Linked DNA regions of Homo sapiens: regions 1, 3 and 4 are each linked to region 2. Evidence: promoter capture Hi-C in human tissues and cell types (Jung and others, 2019). All regions are on one chromosome and are shown on one strand. The core of a region is centred on a gene start or on the middle of the fragment in contact, and the rest is flanking DNA. Distances in the headings are between cores, read along the strand shown.

The links. The method cuts DNA at HindIII sites, captures the fragments that hold promoters and counts their contacts. A contact is called where the count stands out against the background at its distance.
Region 1: a contact is called between a fragment that was not itself captured here and the fragment with the promoter of PRR20A in region 2, in 4 of the 25 tissues and cell types used here (H1 embryonic stem cells, dorsolateral prefrontal cortex, mesendoderm cells and 1 more).
Region 3: a fragment that was not itself captured here is called in contact with the fragment with the promoter of PRR20A in region 2 in 5 of the 25 tissues and cell types used here (IMR-90 fibroblasts, liver, mesenchymal stem cells and 2 more).
Region 4: a contact is called between a fragment that was not itself captured here and the fragment with the promoter of PRR20A in region 2, in 4 of the 25 tissues and cell types used here (dorsolateral prefrontal cortex, mesendoderm cells, spleen and 1 more).

What each region holds. Positions count from the first base shown.
Region 1 is chr13:57,556,860-57,559,720 of GRCh38, forward strand. No RefSeq gene overlaps it. Among named protein-coding and RNA genes, the nearest start is that of PCDH17, 73 kb to the right of the region's middle. The HindIII fragment of the contact is 7,029 bases long and covers 1-2,861 here.
Region 2 is chr13:57,139,459-57,142,629 of GRCh38, forward strand. PRR20A (proline rich 20A) reads left to right here and starts at 1,460. Exons shown (of 3, transcript NM_198441.2): 1 at 1,460-1,673; 2 at 1,828-1,898; 3 at 2,920-3,171. The coding sequence starts at 1,847. The HindIII fragment of the contact is 47,953 bases long and covers 1-3,171 here.
Region 3 is chr13:56,750,782-56,753,882 of GRCh38, forward strand. No RefSeq gene overlaps it. Among named protein-coding and RNA genes, the nearest start is that of PRR20A, 390 kb to the right of the region's middle. The HindIII fragment of the contact is 4,600 bases long and covers 1-3,101 here.
Region 4 is chr13:57,475,317-57,478,267 of GRCh38, forward strand. The region is part of intron 2 of LOC105370217 (a long non-coding RNA gene); the gene reads right to left. Among named protein-coding and RNA genes, the nearest start is that of PCDH17, 150 kb to the right of the region's middle. The HindIII fragment of the contact is 3,528 bases long and covers 1-2,951 here.

The DNA of each region.
Region 1 (2,861 bases), core at 227-2,726, 420 kb after region 2:
TGAAAATTACTTTGATGAAGATGAGGATGATGACAATATAATGACAGGGATACGATGCAGACAGCAGCTAACACTTCTCAAGGGCTTACTGTGTGCCAGACAATCCAGGTGAATTCTCATCTAGAAACTTATAAAGTGGATGAGATTAGAGCCTTCATTATGTACAGGGAAAGCTAGTATAACTAAACAAAGTGTGCTGGTAGCAGACCTCGGCAAACTGAATTCAAAGATCATATTTTAATTACTCTACTATATTTACCCTTGAAACAGACAAAATCTGGGTTCTTCCTCAGGTAAAAACTTTCAGGGTATTGGATCATATATTAAAGTTCTTCATCAAAGACACATTTCTATTATTTCTGATGAGAACAGGAAATTATAATTAATTAACAATGGGCAATGGTAAATGTTCCTTCAGTTAAGGAAGAATGAAAAGGCTAGGGTCAACAATCTTCACACCAGCAGCTGGCTCCTTTCACATTTGGAGCAAAGATTGTAGTTTTTAATTTGTATGCCATTAGTTTATTTCTGTTCTAAACTGAGAATACTATAGTAGTAATCTTCAAATATAATATATAATATAGAACAAAATCTTTCCAAAATAAATTAATTTGGGCTTCTACTGTGTCAGAAATCAGCCTTATCTAAAATAGGGGTTGAGTAGGTCAATATGTTGCTTTGAATTATGAATTGAGTGGGGAAAAGTAAAGACTGGAGATAGAAGATAAACGTTTCTATAATATTCTACATCTTTGATTTATTTTCTTTGCTAGGTTTAGTTTTATAAGTCTGAGTTTATGGCCACTCAAGCATTTGTTAAATTATGTGAAGAAAGAATTAAAACAATTCCAAACTATAGTTAACAGACATTTTGATGTTTATTATTATGAATAGCATTTTGTGCAAAATATGCATTACTTTTAGAAACTAGTATCAACTAAAATAGTATTTGTTCAATGGCTTTCTTTTCCTTTAGGAATTATTTGTGAAAACAGAATATAAAGTAAGACCAAATTGGTATATGCCTTTTTTTTTCTTTTTTCTTTCCCCCGGTGTTCCAGGGTTGTGCTCTTTTTTTTTTTTTTAAAGGTACTAATAAAAAAAAGGCTACACAAATGAATTTGAAAGGCTTTAATTTCGGTAAATGAGGAAAATGCAAATATAGTAATTGTCATAGCCGAGGAGTGGCTTAGCTTTGCTGTCTGATGCCTTTTACATCTTTCTAGTTGCCATGGCTTCCTGCCTATCATGTTCATGAGAAGCATTCAAAGCAGAAATACTGTAGGAGGATTGCTTGTCTGAACACACATGTTATTTAAGGCCTTTATTTCTGGCTCACTTACAGTATTCACTGAAACATAGAGTGAATGGTCAAACAAGCTCTACTTATCTTTATTCTTGCTTGATCAATGTCAGGATGCTTTAACCTGGCATGTTTATTTTACAGAGTGGTTTTTCTTTCGGTGTTCCTCGAGTGTTATCAAATCAGTGCCTCCTCGTGGTCAATAAAAGTAATAACATGATTTCTTGCATTGTCACAGTAAAGCGCACTTGGTGAGCCTTCTCACCAAAAGAGAAGTAATTTAGATCAACATGGCTAATCTAGGACTCACAATACTTTACTCAGTCAATAGTTTCTTGAGTACATGAGTCACTCTCCTGTTTCCACTGCAATTACAGTGTCTACATTTATCTTAAACAGAAAAGGATCTATAAATGTGTTCTCCAATATAGTAGCCACAATTCACATGTGAATTATTAAATTAAAATTAAAGCTTCAATAGCCAGAAAGTTCTATTGCACTGTGCTGGTTTCTGGGGCAAAGATAAAATATGTATGATATATATTAATGCAAGAATTTATTAAGATTTTAAATTAAACACTTTACATTATCCGGAGTGTGATCTATAATTTCTATTTATAAAACATTACTCTGTTTTACAATATTTCCTCTTTGCTTTTGGACATATTTTCAAATTTTCAAGTCCCGTATTCTACTTTGAAAATATGATCGCTTGACAATAAGTAAATTTGTTTTCTTTAGTTTTTCTATAGGGGGCATATAATATTTTGAACTGGAAATAGCAAGCAGGAAGAACCATTTTTTATTATTGTGACCATTATAAGTCATTATAGTTAAAATAATTTTTGTTGTTAGTCACCTGTCATTATTATCTAAGGACATTTCCAGAATACAGATTACATCAGAGATATCAATATTACATAAATTTATATCCCTTAATATCACACTATTACTTTGAAATTAATCACACACACACACCCATACACACACATACAATAGTTCTCCCAATCCACAATTTGGCTTCCACAGTTTGTCACCCGTGATAAACCACTGTCTTAAAATAGGTTAGTACGTTACAATAAGATATTTTGAGAGAGAGAAAACACATTTGCATAATTTTTATTGTAGTATATTGTTACAGCTTTTCTATTTTATTATTAGTTATTATTACTCTCTTACTATCCCTAATTTATAAACTTTACAACAGGTAAGTATGTTTTAAAAAAACATAATATATATAGGATTCAATACTATCCATTGTTTCAGGCATTTGCTGAAGGTCTTGGAACATATCCCCCATGGATAAAAGGAACTACTGTATATATAATATATGTTATATATAGGTGTGCATGTGTATGTGTGTATAATATACATTATAAATACATTTCTTCCTTTAGATTGAATAATGATTTGACTATCATAAAAATTTTCCTTCATATTTAAAAATACTATTTCCTTTAATAGTTTGCAATTAAAGTTAAATTTAAGTATTTGTCAATATTTTGTGTTATATGTAATCCATGAATATATACTCATTCAGACATGTAATCTAAGACAA
Region 2 (3,171 bases), core at 210-2,709:
TTAGGTAGCTATTCCCCTGCAAGGAGATAAAGCAAAACTTCCCTTTTCTTTACGTATAGGCTACAGGTAGCGACTTCCAGAAAGCACAGTAGAGAAAGAGGTGGGAAAATCACTTTATGGTGGAGAAACCTAATCAACACTGCCCCAGCCCGGTGACCAGGACTAATAGCAGCAGTGATAAGCCGGCTTGATGGTGTGTACTCTAGACAGGATGGGATGGGAATGGCGCTTTCCCGCTGCAATCTTCCTGACAAAAACATATAATTCCAGTCAGATCACAAGGAATACATCACACGAACTTCAGGAGAGGACATCCCACAATATATCTGATCAGTATTCAAAGTGTCAGAGTCATCAAAAACAAGGCAAGTGTGAGAAACCGTCGCAGCCAAGGGGAACCGTGACGAGTTGTAAGGTGGTACCCTGGATGGGGTCTTGGGACAGAAAAGGTATGTGAGGTGAAAGCATAGCAAAACCTCACTTCAACAGGAAATACAACCCAAAAAAGTAATTGGCCCGGCATGGTGGCTTGCGCCTGGGGTCCCAGCGACTCGGGAGGTTGAGCGGGACGGACGGCTTGAGCTCAGGCCTTCCAAACAAGCCTGGGCACATAGCGAAAACTCGTCTCTCCAAAAAAATCCGAAAATTATCCCGATGTGGTGGCGCTCACCTGTAGTCCAGCTACTCCGGAGGCCGAGACAGGAGAATCACTTGAACTGATTCTCCTATCTCAGCCACCCCCCCCCAACCCCCCCAAGTAGCCGCAGCGAGCCGAGATGGCACCGCTGCACTCCAGCCTGGGCTACAGAGCGAGAACCAGTCTCTGTAAAAAACACAAGGATGCAAACCAACCAAATAACCCACTGTGGGATCCCCTCCAGCGTCCTGCTGTGTTTCCCGCTGTCTTCCTCCACCCGTGAGTGCACCCACAGCAATAAAAGCCAGCGGTGTGGGTCTCACACGCATCTCCAGCCCCGTCTCACACGCACCACCTCCGGGCCTGGACTTGGCCTCCCGTCCATTCCCAGAATGTGCCGGGCTCCCTTCCAGTCCGGGCCTCAGCACACTCTCTTCACTCCCCTTCCTCCCTCCCTGCCTCTCCCAACCCGGTTCAGGATGACTAATTTCAAACGTTATGTTCCAGATTTCAGCCCAGATATCCCCGCTTTGGATGCTTTCCTTGACCATGCTCAGATCTAAGCTAATCGCATCTTCCTGTCAGCCGCTTTCAGGGCACCACACCTCATTGTGCTGACACTCAGAGGTCATTATGCAATTTTTTTTCCTCGATGATTAGATTAATCAATCAACCACGGACGTCTAGAAATGGCGGCATCTCAGAAGGGCCCCCATTTGACTGGCAGGGGACTGGCCCAATGCGCCTCGCAAGCCCAGCCAGGCCCGCCCCAGCCGGCCCCCCTCTGACGACGCCTGTCCCTTACGCGACTGCCTTGCTGCCATATAAGAGGGACGGCGCTCGGCCTCCAGCAGTCGGCTTTCTGCTGGGCTCGGAGCCAGAACCTGCTGCGTGCTCCCTCCAGACTCCCTGGCTGCGGGTGGACTACCTCAGAGCTACAGCGGTGAACCTGTGGACACCTCCGACTCCTCGGGCCTCTCTTCGTCGAAGAGTCTCCTAATTTTCAGATCTCCGGAGCCAGCTGTGGGAAGATCAGGTGTGTGTCTGGGGGTCCCGGAGGCGTGGACGGATCTCGGGTGGGTGCAGTTGGGGACAGAATCCTCATTCCCCTAGAAAGGCCACGGCCATCCCCCTGCCTTGTCACCTCTGTCTTCCTAAATCCGTTCTTGCTCTCTTGTTTTTCTCCCCAGCCCCTCCCGCCGATTGCTCATGGAGGAACCAAGGCCTTCGAAGCGACTTCGCTCCATGGCCCCTAATCAAGGTACATCAAACGCCTGCCACTCCTCTCTTTTTAATTTCGTCTGTTCCCCAATTCTTCCCCAATGGTTGACACTCAAACTCAATCAAGCATTCTCTGTTTCACCTTCTCCTAGCCTGCCTCAACCTGGGCTGCTTGTTGGAAGTCAGCTCCCGGGTTCCACATCATCTGGGAAATTCCTTTCCCTCTTCCGAACCGTAATCCCATTTCCCAAATCTGAGATTTGCTGTTGTTGTCGCTGTTTCCTTCTGTTTAGTTTTGTATTACTGTTTCTCCGTAGCAGAGCGAGTCCTCACGCTACGTCTTGATCTATGATAAACCGGTACTTCCACCTTGTTCTTTCCCGGAGGAGTTGGAATTTTCCGGCTGTTGCCACGTTGTTCTCCAAAACTTTTCCCTTCATACGCTGAGTGTCCTAAATCTTTTAATCTTGTCTAGTTTGACAGATGCATAACAATAAAGCATCCACTGAAAGGAAATTCTTTAACATCTTGCTTGTCTGAAACATCTTCATTCTCCCCTCCCAGATTCTTCAGCGAAACTTCGGTTGGACAGGAAATTTTAGGTGGGAAATTCATTTCCCTTGAAATTTCGAAGACATTTTCTGTTATGTTCTAGACTGAACTGCTGCTTTTGAGATGTCTGACTTTTGAGACATGTGGAATCCTAGCCCTTTCCATGTGACTTTTCCTTTCTCTGTCTCCCGCTCTCTAGAATCTGTTAGAATCTTCTCTTTTTCCTCAGCACTCTGAAATTTTCTGGTGAAATGTCTCAGCCACAGCATACCTCTAATTCTCTTATATTTCATCCTTCTTTCCATCATTTTAGGTTTTTGCTTTGTTCTGTGGGAGACCTTCTCAACTTCATTCTCCAACTTCCGTGGAGAGTTTTGTTTCTTCTCTCACAATTTTAACTTCAGAAATCCCTCTTTTCTCTGAGTATTTATTTGTAAAAGTATCCTATAACTGCTTGACGGGTGAAGTTCCTTCTGTCTCTCTCTGCTCACGCTCCGCTTCTCTTTTAGCCTCAGGTGGGCCTCCTCCAGAGCCAGGCTGCTGTGTTGCGGACCCTGAAGGCTCCGTGGAAGCAGATGGGCCCGCACAGCCAGCCCAACCCGCAAAACCCATCGCTTACGTGAAACCCTTCAGACGGCAGCCCCCAGCTCGCCCAGAGTCACCCCCTCCTGCAGAGAGAGGCCGGCGCCGGGGAGGAAGCCGGCGGCCAGGGCGAGGCCGTGGCAGAAGGGCTGGGCCCCGCGGGGACGCTGGCCAGAGAC
Region 3 (3,101 bases), core at 594-3,093, 390 kb before region 2:
AATACTTCATTGGACTATGCTGTTGTATCACTAAAAGGTTTTAATTCACACCTGTGGGTTTTTCTTATTATGTAAAACCCCAGCGCATTCCTGTTTGTTGTTGTTGTTGTTTGTTTGTTTGTTTGTTTGAGACGGAGTCTTTCTCTGTTACCCAGGCTGTAGTGTAATCGTGTGATCTTGGCTCACTGCAACCCCCACCTCCTGGGATCAAGCACTTCTCCTGCCTCAGCCACCCGAGTAGCTGGGACTACAGGCACGCGCCACCATGCCCAGCTAATTTTTGTACTTTTAGTGGAGACGGGGTTTCACCGTGTTGGCCAGGCTGGTCTCGAACTCCTGACCTCATGATCCACCTGCCTTGGCCTCCCAAAGTGCTGGGATTACAGGCTTGAGCCACCGCGCCAGGCCTGCAATCCCATTTTATGTTAATCACAGCACATGACAGAGGTTTTTATGGTACTTGCCATAGCAGAAATAAAAATTTGCACATTTTATTTAAACCAACAGTTATTTTTCTTTGTATTTTACAGTCTTAAGTGAAATGTTTTTTAATCAGTTATTTACAGTGTGAAGAGTGCTCTGAGATTGAATTTCTCAGCATATCAAAACCAAGTCAGCCTGTTATTGATGGCTGTGATTTACTCAGTGAGCAAAAATTTCTCTACTAACAATGTTATATCTATCTTTATAAACATTTTTAAGACATAAAAGACAAGTAGCACTCATTATATAGTCTCATGATTGCTTTAAAACATTTTAGCAACTAGTAGGGTAGACATGAACAATGTAAATTTACACTGAGATGTAATGCTAACAGAATTGACATATAAATTTGGCTGGAATCAGTTTGTCAATAACTGGGTTGCAGTCCACTGTAGGGCATACCTGTGTATACCTTACAAACAAAGCAAAGCTTTCTATGCAAAGGAACAAAAATATTATACTATATTCCTGGTCAAGCCCCAAATAGGCTATTTTGAAACATTTTTCATTGACACATATTTTCTAACAAGAACAACCGATTTTTTTTAAGAGAAATATTGGTAAGGAGAGAAAAGAGAACACATCATATAAAAATTAGGGTATGAGAACAATGGATACATTATAACATATAATAGTATTTTAATGGTATTTGTTCCTAGTTTCTTTCAACTTATTATAAATAATAGGCAGATTTTTCAAGGAAAAGTGATTTCCTGGGAGTGGAAAATGATCACATCCTGAAAACTTTGTCTTCTAAAATGGGAATACTCTGAGCAGGTAAGAATCTAAGTCTATCCTAAGGCTTTGCCAGTTTAACTAGCCCACAGAACTGTCTGAAAGATACCAGCAGTAACCATACAGGATGGATTTCAAACTTTCTCATAACTCTTTTAAAATAATAATCCTTGTTTATTAGATATTGACTGGAGTTGTTCACAAAGCTTAGAGTACCATCTGGGCTGTAAATTCTGTTTAGAGAAAATAGAGTATAAAATTGTATAGAAGAGCCTTCTTTAAAAGTAAGGTCCAATGAGGAGCGCCAGGGGAATGTTGCAGAATGATTATGGTGTCATAGAAAAGGGAGAGGAACAAAGAGCGTTTATATTTATCAGAGAACTTATAATTATCACTTGACATCTTCTTTCATTGAAATGACAAGAGTTTTTTTAAGCCAGGTAATTTTTACTATCAGCACCAGATAGCGGATGAGAACAGTATTAACAGTTCATGAAATTTTAAGAATATCTAAATGATTCCGTGAAAATGAGATCAGATTAATTTAAGTATTGATCTTCATGTGTAACAATACTGTAATAGGGCTTTCCTGTGTGGGAATTAAATGTCCAATCACAGAATCCAAAGTTCTTACCTGTTGAGTAACCCTGTCTTAGACGATCAGTGGAACAAATCAAATGACTTCAGGAACTGTGACCATAACCTACACCAGAAATTCCTAGATTTTGTTGTGTTTCTGAATCATGCTAGATTAGTTCAGCCAGCAGCCTGAGCTCTTGATTCACTTGCTTTGGGGTGGTAGCCTGAGAGCTTGCATTCCTAACAAATTCCCAGGTGGAGCAGCTGCTGCTGGCCTGGAAACCACTCTTAGGGAGCCATTTCTTACCCTCACAGAGAGCTAGCAATAATGTTGGCTTCATCTGTTAAAGGGACCACTGTGAATAATGCAGAGATGTATGTGGCTGCTACAGACTTCTAACAAGGAAAATGTAAACTGTAGACTGCTATGGGGATTTGAATCCCTCTCTGTTCCTGATATTTACTAACTGTGACTTTGGGAAAGTTACTTAAGTTCTCAAGCTTTACTGTTTTTATCTACAGAGTTTTGATAAAATTGCTCCCTACCACTAAGGCTGTAGTAATAATTGAAATAATCTATGTGAAGCTCTTAGCACAGTGGCCAGATTAAAATGAATACTCAAAAAATATTGGCTGGGCGCAGTGGCTCAGGCCTGTAGTCCCAGCTCTTTTCAAGGCTGAGGCGGGTGGATCACGTGGGGTCAGGAGCTCAAGACCAGACTGGCCAACATGGCAAAACCCCGTGTCTACTAAAAATGCAAAAATTAGCTGGACGCAGTGGCGTGAGACTGTAGTCTCAGGTACTGGGGAGGCTGAGGCAGGAGAATTGCTTGAACCTGGGAGGCAGAGGGAGGCTGCAGCGAGCGAAGATCATACCACTGCACTCCAGCCTAGGCAAGAGAGGGAGACACTATCTCAAAAAAAAAAAAAATAGCTACTTTTATTATTAATTGTGGCTACATAATTTAGAATACAATAATTCAACTAATCTCAGGCCATTGAATAAACAAGAAAAATAAACACACTTCTCAGAATTTCCTAATTAACAATTTCAATAGGAATTAATTTTCATTTTCTTTTAAGTATTACTTACAGTTCTACTCTCACATAGACCCCTTCCAGTTCTTCGCAGCAGGAAGGAAAGTTGACTGAAAGAATTGCATCCACTAATATCCACACATGAAACATCAGATAGATAAAAACATACAAACCATTACAGTTTCTCACCACATAATTTCCTTCCTGTTCTCTACAAGGGTGTCAAATATAAACTTTAGAGCAATAAAATTACACGGGATGGATTT
Region 4 (2,951 bases), core at 430-2,929, 340 kb after region 2:
AGGAAAAATGTAGATAGACACTGTAAAAAAAAAGAATTCTAAAGAGAATCAGAATAATATAGATTTGGTGCAGGCAAGAAATTTTATCATGAACCTAGTGTATAAAAAGATTATGATGTGCTAATATAATAGAACAATCAATGAAAGGATAGTTTAAGACCAAGAAGGATAACAAAGGTAGAAGATACTTCATAAAATGCATGAAAACAGATAGCATACCAGTTGCATCTATGAAAGAGCATTATCTCCCCACGTAGACAAATTCTTAAAATACAGCTGAGCTAAAATATCTTTTCAAAGTACATTATCTGGGGAAAATAAGCTATCTACTTGAACAACATATTTGCATTTTTACTTTAAATTAACATGCTATGACATTATTTACTTGGAGATTATGAAGCTGGTAAACATTTTTTTTCTCATGTTGCTAAATCTCCAAAGATTTATCTGCATTCATCAGGAAGTTCAAAATGAAAAAAAAAATTGTGAGAAGAGTTTCCAGTCAAGCTATCTCAGTATCAAAATATTTTTTGTTTAACCTCGTGCTTCAACACTTTATTGTATTTCTTGTCTTTATATAAAACTATAACCTATTCTGGAGATATTTGGTTTTCCAATTTACTGAAGTCTCTGTACCAGATAGTACTATTTCAGCTATAAGGGATACTTCGAGTTACATCAGCGAGATGGTTAAAATAGGAAGCTCCAGGCCCTCTTTCTTTTCATGAAGACACACATTCAACAACAATCCATAGACCAGTTTCCTTTGTGAGACATCCAAAAACCAGATAAGAGGCTTCTGCATCAAAAACAAACATTAACTAGTTGTATCAAAACAGAAGAAAAATTTGTGGCACCCTCTGGCTATAGTCACTTTCACAGAAAAAAAAGATGCACAATTCAGAGGAACTCAGGTCCTGGCTTTTTCCTGGGGAAGAATAGTGGAAGGTTAGAATATGCATCCAATGTTCTGAACTTTTGAGGGGGCTGTACAAGGTACTGTCTTCTGTTCAACCTGTTGCAAAGCACTGACATAACCTAGCATTCTTTAGATGCCTGGAGAACACTGAGAACAACAACGACAAATAAAGTTGTTCAGCATGTTACTGCTCCATAGAATCTTCAGTACAGCAGACAGAAGCTTTTACAGTGTGGTGACTTCTCCTTCAGGGGGAAAAAGAAGGGTGTAGCAAATGTTCAAAAGGCCAGTATTTTGGGGGCTTCCTAAGAGATCAGTTTCCATGTAGCTCAACCCAAGACACTTACGGGAACTTGGCATATACTAGATTCCAAGGGGCTATTGAGAAAAAATATTTTAAAAGAGCTGGTTGGCATACTGCTGCTTCCAAGTTTACATGGAAGAGCAGACTTACATCAGAGGGAGTAAGAAATTACAAGTTCCTAGAAAAAATTATTTTAATTAAAATATATATGCACAAGACCAAAGAAGACATACCCACAGAAAAGTTTTAAGAAGACCTTGGGATTTGTAGCTAGGCTAATTAGTAAAAGGTCTTCTCCTGTACAAACCCAGTCCATAAAGACTGGGAGAAGAGATATTTTTTTCAAATGTGTGCATATCAACATTTTCAGAGATGGAGCTAAGTTGCCCAGGCTGGACTCAAACCCTTAGGCTCAGGTGATCCTGTTGCCTCAGTCTCTTGAGAAGTTGGGACTACAGGCATAGACCACCACTCCCAGATTTCAAAACAAACTTATAAGGATCAGTTAAAAATATATATATATAAAATGGCCCAATCCAAGGGAAAAATAAATCTCTCAAAACCAATCCTTAAAAACAGAGGTATATAAATTACCTGACAACAAATTCGAAATAATGATTATAAAGACAATTGATGAGCTCAGGAAAACAATGCATGTAAAAATGATAACTTCAACCAAAAACATGAAATCATAAAGATATTTTGAGCCTAGGACCTTAAAGATATAAAGTGGTTCAGCAGTAGCAGAGTTGACCAAACAGAGGAAAGAATTCATGGACTCAAAAAGAAGCAATGAGAAAAAGAAAAGAAAGAGTGAAGAAACCAAAAAACTATGGACCACCATTAAGTCGGCTAGTATACACAAAAAGAAAATCCAAGATGAACAAGAGAAAGAGAACAGCATCATCCTGATACCAAAACCTGGCAGAGACACAACAAAAAAAAGAAAATTTCAGGCAAATATCCCTTATGAACACAGGTGCAAAAGTCCTCAACAAAATACTGGCAAACCAAATCTAGCAGCACATCAAAAAGCTTATCCACCAAGATCAAGTGTGCTTCATACCTGGGATGCAAGGCAGGTTCAACATATGCAAATCAATAAATGTAATCCATTACATAAACAGAACCAATGACAGAAACCATATGATTACCTCAATAGATGCAGAAAAGGCCTTTTACGAAATTCAACACCCCTTCATACTAAAAACTCTCAATAAACTGGGTACCAATGGAATGTATCTCAAAATAATAAGAGCTACTTATGACAAAACCACATCCAATATCATACTGAATGGGTAAAAGCTGGAAACATTCCCTTTGAAAACCAGCACAAGACAAGGAAGCCCTCTCTCACCACTCCTATTCAACATAGTATCGGAAGTTCTGGCCAGGGTAATCAGGCAAGAGAAAGAAAGAAAGCGTATTCAGATGGGAAGAGAGGAAGTCAAATTGTCTCTGTTTGCAGATGACATGATTGTATACCTAGAAAACCCCATCGTCTCAGCCCAAAATCTCCTTAAGCTGATAAGCAACTTCAGCAAAGTCTCAGGATACAAAATCGATGTGCAAAAATCACAAGCGCTCCTATACACCAATAACAGACAAACAGAGAGCCAAATCATGAGTGAACTCGCATTCACAATTGCTACTAAGAGAATAAAATACCTAGGAATACAACTTACAGGGAATGAGAAGAACCTCTTCAAGAAGAACTACAAACCACTG